Linked DNA regions of Homo sapiens: region 1 is linked to region 2. The links are contacts of gene promoters, found by promoter capture Hi-C in human tissues and cell types (Jung and others, 2019). All regions are on one chromosome and are shown on one strand. Each heading gives the region's core, a stretch centred on a gene start or on the middle of the fragment in contact. The rest is flanking DNA. Distances are from core to core; before and after follow the strand shown.

Region 1 (6,633 bases), core at 2,006-4,505, 340 kb before region 2:
AAGTTTATTCATTCAATATTATTATGTCATTTTATAATTGGAAATTTAAAAAATATTTTGTGATATAAACTGTAGAATGCAACGCTCTTAAATATTCTGGCTGGGAAGATAAGGATAAAGACAATGATTCATGACAGGGGTTCTCAAGAAGAGGTATGCTTCAGAACTACCTAGGAAGCATTTTCGCAAGGTAGAAGCTCAGGTTCCCAGGACCCGTGGACTCAATCTTTGGGGCTGTGGCCCTGCCTTGTGTATGTCCAAGCTATTCTGTGCCACCTCTTTCGTTACACTCCACTGATGCAGTATATCTGATGTCTGATTCTTGGGCAGTGGTGGGGAGCCTCTCTCTATTACCCCATCCCAGGAGGGGTATGTATCAGAACCTGGCCATTGAGGGTAGGAGTAAGCTAATTATGCTTATCCAAGGGAGGTGGCAATTCCTAGACAAAGTGAGAATGTTGAGCTGGATGATTCATTAAGCCAAGTGCCCTTAGGATTTTAGGACCTGTTGGTGGAAAGAGATACAGCTAATCAGGTGGGCCAACCAGTAAATAGTAAGGCCTTTCCCTTTTTACCATTATATTTTTTCCTCTCAGCTACTCTTTATACTCACATCTTATTATAAAATATTTAGGATACACAAAAGGATTTAACAGGTAATAAAACTCGCCTGTGTACTCACTACTTGACGTAAGAAGTCAGACATTAACACTACAGTGGAAGTCCCCGGTCGTTCCTCTCTCCAGTGTCATCCCCTCACTCCCACCCAGAGAAAACCATTATCCCACATTGGGTGTTTCAATTCCCATGCATGTCTTTATCCTTTGATCATGATTGACATGATTATGTTGGTAACACTCTATAGTGTTGTTTTGCACCATGTCAGTTACATTTGATTGCATATAACAGAAAACCTTACTTCAGTGGTGTAACCAAAATGGGAGTATTTTTCTCATACAACAAGCAGTCTGACAGCAACCAGGTTGGGATTAGACAGTGGCTCCATGATAAAGTCAATGACCTGGCTCTTGGCTCTGACATCTATAGTGTATGCTTTTAGAACACATTGTTCCTTAAATGGCTGCTGTGCTTCTGGGCATTTCATTTGCATTCCAGGCAGAAAAAAGCAGAAGGGAAAAGGACAAAAAGTCTCATACCAGCTGAGTCTGTCCTTTTTATCAAGAAGGTGACTGGAACATCTCAACAGCAAAAAACAAGCAATCCGATTAAAAAATGAACAAGTGATCTAAACATATTTCTCAAAAGAAGAAATACAAATGGCTAACAGATAAATATATGAAAAAATGCTTAACATCACTAATCATCAGGGAGATGTAAACCAAAATTACAACCTGGTTTCATTTCATTGCATTTAGGATGGCTATGTCAAAAAGGCAAAAAATAACAAATGCTGGCAAAGGTGCAGAGAAAAGGGAACTCATACACTGCTGGTGGGGATTTAAACTATCACAGCCACTATTGTGGCAGGCCAGGTCTCGGTAACGCAGGCCTCTGTAACAACTGTTTCAGCACTGAGTGGTTAAGTTAAATATTAAAAGCTAATAGAGCCGGTGCCCTCATACAAAGGCTGGAATGTAATGAAAGCCCACCAGAAGTTTTGCCCAGGCCTTTCCTGGGCCTTGACTCATGACAAGATAACAAAGGAATTCTTAACAGGCCTCATTTAGGATTAAACAAGTTTTACTGGGGATCTTAAGAAATTCCCCAGACCTCCACAAACAAGTTTATTGGGGGTCTGAAGGAACTCCTCAAACCTCCATGATTTAGCGGGAGACAAGATAATAAGGATAATCACCCCAGCACCTGGATTCACTTAGATTAAGTACATTTACTGAGGCTCCAGAAGAAGGTCCTCAGGACTCAGACCTTAGTTATAGATTAGAAGAAGTTAATCACTTATGTCTTTAAATGAATGCACACTTCCATGTAGACATATAGCTTAGAAGGTATATAATCCCTGGAAAACGTAATTTTGAGTTGATGTGGTGATGTTTTCCAGGCCTTCTCCCTGTACCCAGGGAGAAATAAACTCCCTTCTTTCCCAGTTCATCTGCATCTCATTATTGGGCATGAGAATAAGCAGCCCAACCCTCAGTTCGGTCCGGGAACACTATGAAGAATGGTATGGAGGTTCCTCAAAAAACTACAGATGGAACTACCATATGATCCTGTAATTGCACTACTGGTCATTTATCCAAAAGAAAGGATATCAGTATATCAAAAAGACATCTGCACCCTCATGTTTAATATAGCACTATTCACAATAGCCAAGCTAAGGAATCAGTCTAGGTGTCCATCAACGGATGAATGGATAAAGAAAATGTGGTATAAGCTTTGGCAACATGGCAAGACCTGGTCTCTACTAGAAATAAAAAAATTAGCTAGACATTGTGGTGCATGCCTATGGTCATAGCTGCTCAGCAGGCTGAGGTGGGAGGACTCCTTGAGCCCAGGAGTTTGAGACTGTACTGAGCTATGATTGCCTTACTGCACTCCAGCCTGGGCAACAGAGTGAGACCCTGTCTCTGTTTTTTGTTTTTTTTTTTTTGAGACAAAGTCTCGCTCTTGTCCCCCAGGCTGGAATGCAGTGGCATGATCTCAGCTCACTGCAACTTCTGCCTCCTGGGTTCAAGTGATTCTTCTCCCTCGGCACCCCGAGTAGCTGGGATTACAGGCGCCTGCCACCACGCCTGGCTAATTTTTGTATTTTTATTTGAGATGGGGTTTCACCATGTTGGCCAGGCTGATCTCGAACTCCTGACCTCAGGTGATCCACCCGCCTCAGTCTCCCAAAGTTCTGGGATTACAGGCATGAGCCACCTCACCCGGCTGACCCTGTAACTTAAAAAAAAAGTGTGTGTGTGTGTGTGTGTATATATATATATATATACAAATGGAATACTATTAAATATTTAGCCATAAAGTAATGAAATCCTGTCATTGGTAGCAACATGGATGGAACTGGAAGACATTTGGTTAATTAAAACAAGCCAGAAACAAAGTTAAACACCACATGTCCTCACTCATAGGTGGAAGCTAAACAAAAAAGTTGATTTTGTAGAAGTAAAAAGTAGGACAAAGGTTACTAGGGCCTGGAAAGGATAGGAGGAAGGGGAGGATAGGAAGAGATTTGTTAAAGAATTCAAAATTACAGCAAGATAGGAGGGATAAGTTTAGTGTTCCATAGCACTGTAGGATTACTATAGTTAACAGTAATGTGTAATGTGCTCCATAGATATGTACAATTATGTTAATTAAAGCAGCTTTTAAAAAAGAAGGTGATAACTCAATACGAAGCCCTATGCTATGGACTTCAGCTAACCTTTCCCTGATTATTCCAAGCTGCCAGGAAGAGTGGCAAGTCAAGTGTGCTAGCTGGGCAAGTTGCCACCCTGAATGAGATTGGGTCCCCTTTGTGGAAACAAGGGGAAATGGGTGCTGAGCAGGACGCTAGCAGCAGCTTACCACATACATGTTATAAAATTTCATATAAATAGTATGCTTTCTTCTTCAGCTTGCTTTTTCACTGTTTGTGAAGTTTGCTAAATTCATCTGAGTTGAAAAGTGTAACCTTTGTTCATTTATCTTCATAGACAAATATGTAAATATACCATAGTTTTATTTATCCAATCTCCTCCTTTTGTTTTTTTGTTTTCTTTCTTTTTTTTGAGACAGAGTCTCACTCTGTTGCCCAGGCTGGAGTGCAATGGCGCTATCTCAGCTCACTGCAACCTCCGCCTCCTGGGTTCAAGTGATTCTCCTGCCTCAGTCTCCCGAGTAGTTGGGATTACAGGTGCACACCACCATGCCCAGCTAATTTTTGTATTTTTAGTAAAGATGGGGTTTCACCATGTTGGCCAGGCTGGTCTTGAACTCCTGACCTCCAGTGTGATCTGCCCGTCTCAGCCTCCCAAGTGCTGGGATTACAGGCATGAGCCATAGCGCCCAGCCTTTTTTTTTTTTTTTTTTTTTTTTTTTGAGTTGGCTGTTGCCCAGGCTGAAATGCAGTGGTGCCATCATAGCTCACTGGAGCCTAAACTCCTGGGCTCAAGTGATCCTCCCACCTCAGCCTGTTGAGTAGCTAGGACTACAGGTGCATGCCAACACAGCCAGCTGTTTCTTAACTTTTTTGTAGAGATGAGGTTTTGCCACATTGTCGAGGCTGGTCTCTAACTCCTGGGGTCAAGTGATCCTCCTGCCTCGGCCTGCCAAAGTGTGGGGATTACAGACATGAGCCACTGTGCCTGGCTTCCAATCGCTTTATTTATTTATTTATTTATTTATGACGGAGTCTCACGCTGTCACCCCGGCTGGAGTGCAGTGGTGCGATCTCGGCTCACTGCAACCTCCACCTTCCAGGTTCAAGTGATTCTCCTGCCTCAGCCTACCAAGTAGCTAGGATTACAGGTGCCCACCACCATGCCCAGCTAATTTTTTTTTTTGTATTTTTAGTAGAGATGGGGTTTCACCATGCTGGCCAGGCCGGTCTTGAATTCCTGACCTCATGATTTGCCCACCTCGGTCTCCCAAAGTGCTGGAATTACGGGCATGAGCCACCACACCCGGCCCCAGTTGCCTCTTAATGGGCATTTAGGTTTTCCTGAATTTTTCTATTACAAACAACGTTGCCATGAACATTATTCTTTTCTATTGTGAGGTTTCCTTTGCCATAATTAAATGTGCAGATTTTAAGTGTGGAGTCTGATGAGTTTTAATAAATATAGGTATCAAAACCCCTATCCAAGTTAAGAGCCCTTAACCTTCTTACATGTCTCCCTATGGACATGTGTGAGTCTAGGAGTGGAAACACTGAGTTGTAGGTTATATGCAATTTCAGCCCCATTATATGTTGCCAGTCCTGCACATCTTATAGGCAGGTTATTGCCATGGGAGATCTGGACTAAGATATTTCTTCCCAAGAGTACTCTAAACAGATCTGAGAATACTCCTCAGGGCAGGTTGCAACTAGATTGTGAAGTGAGTGATGCAACTGGCTCTTTCGCCACTCATGCTTATCATTCAGTGCCCCATCCTCACCCTTGGCTGTCACACACTGGAGCCTTCCCTCAGTTCAACCCTCAGAACCACCTGCAACCCAGGGCTCAGTAGCTGGGGCTTGTATGTGGACTGCAAGGTTAGGGTAGTTGGTGGCTGTGAGAAGCCCTCTTCATTCCTTCCTAGCCATGGAGAGCTGGGCAAGTCGTTTAGCATCTGGGAACCTCAGGATCCTCATCTATGAACTGGGGACAATTCCAGTGATACACCCTTCACAGGATTAGAGAAGACTGTCTAGGTAAAAGGCCTGGCGAAAGGTGAAAAAGTTTCTGTGTGGGTTGATACAGGTACTGGGTCCTTTGCTTTTTACCCAGTAGAAGATATTGAACATAGATTTGTAACATTGCTTAAAGGACCTCTATGCCAGGAATCAAGGACAAAGGCCAAATATATACTTTGAAATTATACTACAATCTGTATATCAATTTGGGGAGAATTGATATTTTTTCTAGGTTGAGATTTCCAATTTATGAACACAGTATATCTCTCCATTTAGTTATATCTTCTTGTATTTCTTTCATCAGTGTTTTGTTGTTTTTAGCAGAAGAGTTCTGTATGTGCTTTGTTAGATTTATACCTAAGTATTTCACCATTTGGAGTGATTGTAAATGGTATTGTATTTTTAATTTCAATGTCTATGTGTTTATTGCTTCATATGTAGAAATACAATAATTTGTATCTTGCAACCTTGATAAAATAACTTATTTGTTCCAAGGAGACTTTTTTATAGATTCCTTGGAATTTTCTTTTTTTTCTTTTTCTTTTTTTGAGATGGAGTCTCACTCTGTCACCCAGGTTGGAGTACAGTGGTGCAATCTCAGCTCACTGCAACCTCCGCCTCCAGGGCTCAAGCGATTCTTGTGCCTCAGCCTCTGGAGTAGCTGGGATTACAGGCGCATGCCACCACCATGCCTGGCTAATTTTTTTGTATTTTTGATAGAGGTGGGGTTTCACCATTTTGGCCAGGCTGGTGTTGAACTCCTGACTTCAGGTGATCCACCCACCTCAGCCTGCCAAAGTGCTAGGATTACAGGCATGAGCCACTGTGCCTAGCCTTCCTTGGAATTTTCTATGAAGATAATCATATCTGCAAGTAGCAATCCTTTTATTTTCTTCTTTTCTGATCTTTTCTTTCTGATGTGTTTTACTTCTTTTACTTGCTTTATTGCATTGGTTACAACTTTCAGCACGGTGTTGAATAAGAATGGGGAAAGCAGATATCCTTGCCTTGTTCCCATCCATTTTTTTTTTCAGATCTTTATTAAGTTGAGGATGTGCCCCTCTTTTCTTTCTTTCTTTCTTTCTTTCTTTTTTTTTTTTTTTTTTTTTTGAGATGGAGTCTCCTCTGTCACCCAGGCTGGAGTGCAGTGGCACGATCTTGGCTCACTGCAACCTCTGCCTCCCAGGTTCAAGTGATTCTCCTGTCTCAGCCCCCAAGTAGCCAGGACTACAGGTGTGCACCACCACGCCCGGCTAATTTTTGTATTTTTGTTTGTTTGTTTGAGACAGAGTCTTGCTCTGTGGCCCAGGCTGGAGTGCAATGGTGCAATCACGGCT
Region 2 (7,558 bases), core at 2,782-5,281:
AAATATAAGAACATGGTGAACAAAGAAGACAATAAAATGTATAGATGTATCTGAATAATGGTTGATACTAGAAATATAGGGAGCTGAAGAAAATATTATCTTAGTAAGTGGTGACTATTGAACACAAGATTGGGAAAAGCTGTGAATTAAAATATGAGTTACACACCAGATAAAGGCAAGGAATTGGGGAATGTGTCCCATCTCAAGAGAACATGTTACAAAGGGAAAGCACTGACAGCACAAGGAGAATGTGAACAGTGGCTCCGTGGCTGTTCTTTCAAAGTTACAGGAGCTCAGGCTTCACAGCTTTGTCCAATTCAACAGTTTACACTGACTCAGAGCTCCAGAGTTACATCCATCAGATGAGGTACTAAGTTGTGAGCCTGCTACAGAAGCCACCATTACAAGAACCAAAAACCCCAATACTTGTGAATCTTTATAGCTATAGTTTCCAGTAATGAATCATCTCATGGAGTAGGAGGCAACCTCTCCTTAGGCAGAGGAATAATGACAATAATGACCTCAATAGCAGTAACAGCATCAGCCAACACTTGAATGATGCTTACTCTGTGCCAGATGCTGCTCCATACACGTAACACTTACCACAAACAACAGTGTTATGACATACATACTAAAAGCCCATTTTACGGATGAGAAAACAATCACAGAAAGGATATGTAACTTGTCACAGAGCTAATACATGGTGGAGCTGAGATCTGAGCCCCAGCAGGCAGGCAAAGCTCCCAAGTATGTGCCCTACAATCACACTGTTATTCAACACTGCCCATTCTAAATAGATGTCTACTTTCACTGTGAAGGTCTACAATACTCAGCACCCATATTAGACCTATGAGCAGGATAGGACAGAGGTGACCACCTCTTCTCTGTAAAACATGTTCTTTACTTAGCTTCAGAGATAGTGGGCTCTTCTAGTTTCTTCTTTCCACAGCTACTACTTCTCAGTCTCCTTTGTTGGTTCCTTATCTTCACAACTTTCAAAGTCAGTTCTCACCTCTTCTCTTCTTTGTCTATATTCTCATCTATATTCTCATTCCAGGCTATCCCTTTCTATATCATCACTATGAATATCATCTGTATGTAGTTGATTTCAATATCCAAGTCTCTAACCCAAACCCCTCTTCTTAAATCCAAACAGAGCTAACTTCCTAGTCAACATAACCACCTGAACATCTACTAGACATATGTAATCTTAAAACATCCAACACTGAACTCTTGCTCTTCTCTCTGAAGCCTAATCCTTCTTGCTATCTAAAACGGCAACACCATCCCTCTCAAGATCCCTACCAAAACCTTAAAGTCAATCTTGATTCCTCTCTCACATCCCCATCCAATCTCTGAGGAAATCCAGTTTATTCTATCTTCAACATACCCACGTTTGACCACTTCTTGCCACTAATACAACAATCCAAGCTGCTCTGGCACCCCTACATTCTACTCTCAACACAACTAGAATGACCCTGCTAAAATATTTCAAATGTCACTCTGCTGAAAAACCCTCCAATGGTCTCTTGTCTCATTCAGAGTAAAAGCCAAAGTCCTTATTTCGGCACCTACCAGTTCCTCCATGATTGGGCTCCCCTAACCCTACCCCAGTACCTCGCAGACTTCCAAGTCCCTCTTACTCCACCCCAGCTGTCCTGGCCACTTTGCTCCCCTAACCCAATCACACCAAGCTCACTCCGTCTGAGGACCTTTATACAGACTCCTCTCCACCCCTCTGGACTATGAAACCCCCTCACCTCCTTCAGGTCCCTACACAGATTTTTAAAACTTACCAATGTTATCAGTGAGGCTTTCCTTATCTACCTTCTTAAAATATCTACACCTCCCAGCCGGGCGCGGTGGCTCACGCCTGTAATCCCAGCACTTTGGGAGGCCAAGGCGGGCAGATCACAAGGTCAGGAGATCGAGACCATCCTGTCTAACATGGTGAAACCCCGTCTCTACTAAAAATACGTCGGGCGTGGTGGCAGGCGCCTGTAGTCCCAGCTACTCGGGAGGCTGAGGCAGGAGAATGGTGTGAACCCGGAAGGCAGAGCTTGCAGTGAGCCGAGATCGCGCCACTGCACCCCAGCCTGGGCGACAGAGCCAGACTCTGCTCAAAAAAATAAAAAAAAAACCCACAAAACTACTCCCTCCCTACCATCCCACCAGTGCTTATTTTCCCCTTACCCTTCATTCATTTTCTCAGGGCATTTAGTACCACCTAAAATATGATATATTTATGTATGTCTCCCCCTTCCCCTAATAATGTAAATTCATTAGTACAGAAATTTTCATCTCTTCTTCATTTACTACTATATCCCCAAGGCCGTAGCAGGTGCTCAATACGATTTTTTGAATGAATGAGAAGTATTCCCATCACAAATTACTCGGAAAAAAAACCAGAAACCATATGAGAAAAGACTGATTCATCTGACTGCATAAAACCAAACCACAACATCCCCATTCCTTTTTACATTGAAAAATAATGCCATAGGCAAAGACAAATGACAATTGGGAGTAAAGTATTCGCAGATAAGAGATCCTAGAATGTGAAAAAGACCAAAAAGGAGAAAAATGGGCAAATAATATGGACAGCTCACCATACTTCCATACCATCCTTCACCCATCATTTTGGCAAAATTCCAAGTGTCTTTTATGTATTGCAGTCAAGTTTTGGGGAATGGAGCTTGTGTCCAACACACTTTGAAACTGATAGCTGCTGTTCGGATTTTTAAATGTTGCTATTATCTTTTTTTTGTGTGATGAATTCTTATGTATTTTATAACATATCAATTAGTACCAGTTATTTTTCTTAGTAAATTATATCATCTGCAAGTAATTAGTGTATCTGTCTCTTTCCAATATTTATAGGGCTTATTTTAAAATTTTAGTCATTTTGCATGAGAAGCTTGGTGATAAAATCATGGATCCTGGACATAGCTCTTCCACTTACACTGTGCAATCTCGGCAGGTTATTTAGCCTCTCCGTGCCTCAGTTTTCCCATCTGTAAAACGAGGACGGCATCATCTTCTCTTTAAGTTTGTTTTGAGGATTAAGTGATTTATTTCATGTAAAGCACAAGGTAAAGCTCTGGATGATCAGTTAAGGTAAAATTTGAGATAGAGTGAACAGCTGACCAATATCGAATGGTAAAATCAATCACAACTGGAAATATATCTCAGTTGAGGGAAATAAAAGACGTAGGTTTAAGAACAAAGATGGTGGTTTTTAGCATTTCAAATCACTAGACACTGCTCCAAAAATATAATCTACAAATTAGGGCCATCTGACCAAGAGTCTCACTTGCTTTTCCAACCTAATGGAAATATTAAGTCCAAATGACGTCTGTTGCTTTATTGTGGTCTTTAGGGTCTTTCCATGCAAATCAGTGGACTAATGGCAGAGTATTGCCTATTCTTTACCTTTCAATAAACTTGTGGTTTCATCCTTTCTACAGAAAAGAACCTAGGAGGTGTCAGTGAAAAAGGTCACATCAGTGTCCTCTGGGAGTTTACGGTCTCGTGGAAACAGGCAACAACGGTAAAGACAGACGCTACGGGACCACAGAGGCGGGCTCCTCACCCGCTGCTGTGCAGAGAAAGGGGCGCATCCCGGAGCCTTCTCGCCTCCACCCCGCTCCCCCGCCCAGGCTCTCGACAGCCCCGGCCCTGACGGCCTAAGCCTGAGCCCCGCGTTCAGCTTCTGCTCCCACCCGGACCCCGCACGACCTCTATAGGTCAGACGGTGGCGCCCGGCCGGCCCACGTGCTCCCCACGGGCCCTCGCGACGCGGCCCGGACGTGGCCCCGGACTGCCTCCAATCCAGAAGAAACTAAGAGGCGGAGTCCCGCTGAGCCCCTGCATTCAAAAGATGAAAAGATATGGGATCACCTTTCGTCAGAGTCCGTGGCCGTTTTGCCGAGGGCCGGGTTGGGGGGTTTTGAGAAAAGATTCTCAAAATCCATGACCCAGACAGGTCCTCCCTTTCGCGAGCCGGGAAGCTACAGAGTAACAACCCGAGAGAGTGACAACCCGGACGCGACGAGACGGACCCAGAGCCGCGCCAGGGCCACAGGCTCCGCCCCGCGCAGCCTCACCTGCCCCGCGCATGCGCTGCACCGCCCTCCGCGACTCTGGGCAGGCCGGGTCTCTCCCTGCCTCCTTCGCCTCGGCTCTGCGCAGGCGCCGCCGTGGTTGCCCTTCTGTAAGCTTTTTCGTCCTTTACCTCAGATAGTAGAATTTTGTTTATTTTATTTATTTATTTGTTTGTTTGTTTGTTTATTTAAAGACAGAGTCAAGCTCTGTCGTCCAGGCTGGACTGCAGTGGCGTGATCTCGGCTCACTGCAACCTCCGCCTCCCGGGTTCAAGCAAGTCTCCTGCTTCAGCCTCCTGAGTAGCTGGGACTACAGGTGTCTGCCACCACGCCCAGCTAATTTTTGTATTTTTAGTAGAGACGGGATTTCACCATGTTGGCCAGGATGGTCTCGATCTCTTGATCTCGTGATCCGCCCGCCCCAGCCTTCCAAAGTGCTGGGATTACAGGCGTGAGCCACCGCGCCCGGCCCCAGCCCAGAATTTTTAAAATTAGTTGTTAGGATTCTGCTTTCACCTTGGTGAAAACTCTTCCATCAAAATCACAGTATTTCTAAGGGATGGTAGTAACAGCTAACATTTATCTGAGCACTCCACTACTATTCCTTAGAAATAGCGTTTCACATGTTAGCTAACTTAATCCTCACAACAGCCCTGTAAAAGATGTTCTATTACCATTCACAGTTTTGAAATGAATAAACAGATGTGTAGTCAGGTAATGTAACTTGTAGGGTCTCTACAATTGAATGGGAATTAAAATGAATACACAAGTAACCTCAAGACAGAAAAGTCCGTTAAAAAGTACCAAATACTAAGAGAATTCAGAAGAGGGAAAAAATTGCATCCAGTTGGGAAGGCTTCTTGAGAAGGGAGTATTTGAGCTGGGTCTTGAGATATTTCCATAGGAAAAGAGGAAGTGGGCATTCCAAGTAGAGAGAATTGTATGAAGGCAGGAAAATAGAGCATGCTGTTGCAGAACAGGAAATTGCTCAGTTTTGCTCAATGTAATGCCATTTAAGGGACCTGTAGAAAGGAAGGCTCAAACCCTAGGTTGGGCCAGTGATAGAGAACCTGACTTGCTTCTGTAAGTGAAGGGAGTGTTTGATTCTTGGCATGAATCAGGATCCCTTTACCGATTAGTGAAGGGAACTATTTGAAGCCAGACATCTTCCCCAGGGAAATTCTACTTTCCCATGTTGTTTATATTGTAGGCCATCACCTATGGAACATGAATCATTACTAAAAATTCAGAGAAAAAATTGAATTAAGGAGATAAAAACTAGAATTACCCCCTCTTTAGCAGGAAGCATTATTATAGAACCCAAATTGTTACCATACACACTTTTTTATATAAAATATCCAACATACAGCAAAAGATAACCAGACACAAATGAAAATTAGATTGGTAGGTAAAAAGCAGCTAAAACATCTGACCTGCAAAGGCATCAGACACTAGCATTTTCAGACAAAGACTATATAAAAGGCTACATATGTTTGTGTTAGATTGATGCCAAAAAAGGCCCCAATTTCTCCAACCTTTCCTGTATCCATGTCCTTTGCAATGTGACTTTGCAGCTCCTCCCATAAAGAGGTAGGATCTATTTCACCTCCTCTTTAATCTGAGTTGATTTTGCCTGATAGAATGACTTGTCTTAGCTAGTAGAATGCAGAAGTGGCCTGCCAATACCAAGCCAAGGCCCCAAGAGGCTTTGTATGTGTCTGCTGTCTCTTATATGCCTGCCTTCTTCAGGACAATAAACTCAGGCTACCCTGCTGACGATAAGGGAGAGGCATGTAGAAGATAAGGCTAATGGAGGACAGCGAAAACACCCAGTCAACAGCTAGCAAAACCCTAAAAGCAAAGCCTCCTAGGCAACATACAGCTGAGCACACACATGATGGAGTCCTGCAGAGAACCAAAGACTCTCAGATGATCCCAGTCCAAATTACTAACCCACATAAATAAATGGTCCTTGTTTTAAGCCACTAAGTTTTTAAGTAGTTTACTACATAGTAATATCTAACTAATAAAAAAGAAACTATAAAAAGTGTCATAGAGAAATTGGGGAGAAGTAACCAAGTAGAACTTCTAGAAATAAAAAATATAATACTGAAATTTTTAAAAATCAGTGGATGGGGCTGGGCGTGGTGGCTCACACCTGTAATCCCAGCACTTTGGGAGGCCAAGGCCGGTGGATCACAAGGTCAAGAGATAGAGACCATCCTGCCAAAATGGTGAAACCCTGTCTCTAATAAAAATACAAAAATTAGCTGGGCGGGTTGGCGCACGCCTGTAGTCCCAGCTACTCAGGAGTCTGAGGCAGGAGAATCGCTTGAACCCGGGAGGCGGAGGTTGCAGTGAGCTGAAATTGCGCCACTGCACTCCAGCCTGGGAGACAGAGTGAGACTCCATCTCAAAAAAAAAAAAAAAAAATCAGTGGATGGTGTGGTCATATTAAAATGTGTTCAAAAATTCCTTAACACTTCTCCCTGCAAAAGTTGGAGATTTAGTCCCCTCTTCTTTAATGTGGATAGGATTTACTTATTTATTTCTAACAAATACAATGTGGCAAAAGTGATGATGCATGATTTCTGAGGTCATAAGAAGACATTGTAGTTTCTGCCTTATTCTCTTGAATCATCTGCATGAAGGGAAGTCAGTCACCATGTCATGAATCACTCAGGCAGCCTGTGGAGAGCCAGCCATGTGGGTGAGGTACCTTGGAAACAGATCTCCCAGCACTAAGCAAGCCAGAAGACATCTCGACAGCAATCCCGTGAGAAACTGTGGGACAGAACCACCCAGCTAAGCAGCTCGCAGATTCGTGACCCACAGAGGATATAAGAAGATCAATGTTGGGCCAGGTGTGGTGGCTCACGCCTGTAATCCCAGCACTTTGGGAGTCTGAGGCAGGTGGATCACCTCAAGTCAGGAGGTTGAGACCAGCCTGGCCAACATGGTGAAACCCCGTCTCTACTAAAAATACAAAATTAGCTGGGTGTGGTGGCGCATGCCTGTAGTCCCAGTTACTTGGGAGGCTGAGGCACGAGAATCGCTTGAACCCAGGAGGCGGAGTTTGCAGTAAGCCGAGATCGCGCCATTGCACTCCAGCCTGGGCAAGAAGAGCAAAACTTCATCTCAAAAAATAATAATAATAATAAAGAAGATCAATGTTTGTTTTTTTAACCACAAAGTTTTAGGCCAATTTGCTGTCCTCTATAGCAATAGAAAAGTGAAATTCCCTATTATTATAAAGCAGATGGCCTAAACATAAAATTATCATATGACCCAGCAATTCCACTCCTAGGTATATACCCAAAGGAATTGAAAACAGGGACTGAAACATATATTTGTACATTCATGTTAATTGCAGCATTATTCACAATAGCCAAAAGGTAGAAACAAACCGAGTGTCCATCCACTGATTAATGGATAAAATGTGATATACACATAGGATA

Evidence for each region. The method cuts DNA at HindIII sites, captures the fragments that hold promoters and counts their contacts. A contact is called where the count stands out against the background at its distance.
Region 1: a fragment that was not itself captured here is called in contact with the fragment with the promoter of ZC3H8 in region 2 in 1 of the 25 tissues and cell types used here (hippocampus).

Annotation. Positions count from the first base shown.
Region 1 is chr2:111,907,718-111,914,350 of GRCh38, forward strand. All of the region lies in intron 1 of MERTK (MER proto-oncogene, tyrosine kinase), which reads left to right. Among named protein-coding and RNA genes, the nearest start is that of MERTK, 12 kb to the left of the region's middle. The HindIII fragment of the contact is 7,559 bases long and covers 1-6,633 here.
Region 2 is chr2:112,251,011-112,258,568 of GRCh38, forward strand. It overlaps ZC3H8 (zinc finger CCCH-type containing 8), which reads right to left and starts at 4,032. Exons shown (of 9, transcript NM_032494.3): 1 at 3,898-4,032. The coding sequence starts at 3,971. RefSeq lists a silencer at 4,005-4,214 and a cis regulatory region at 5,765-6,016. The HindIII fragment of the contact is 5,500 bases long and covers 897-6,396 here.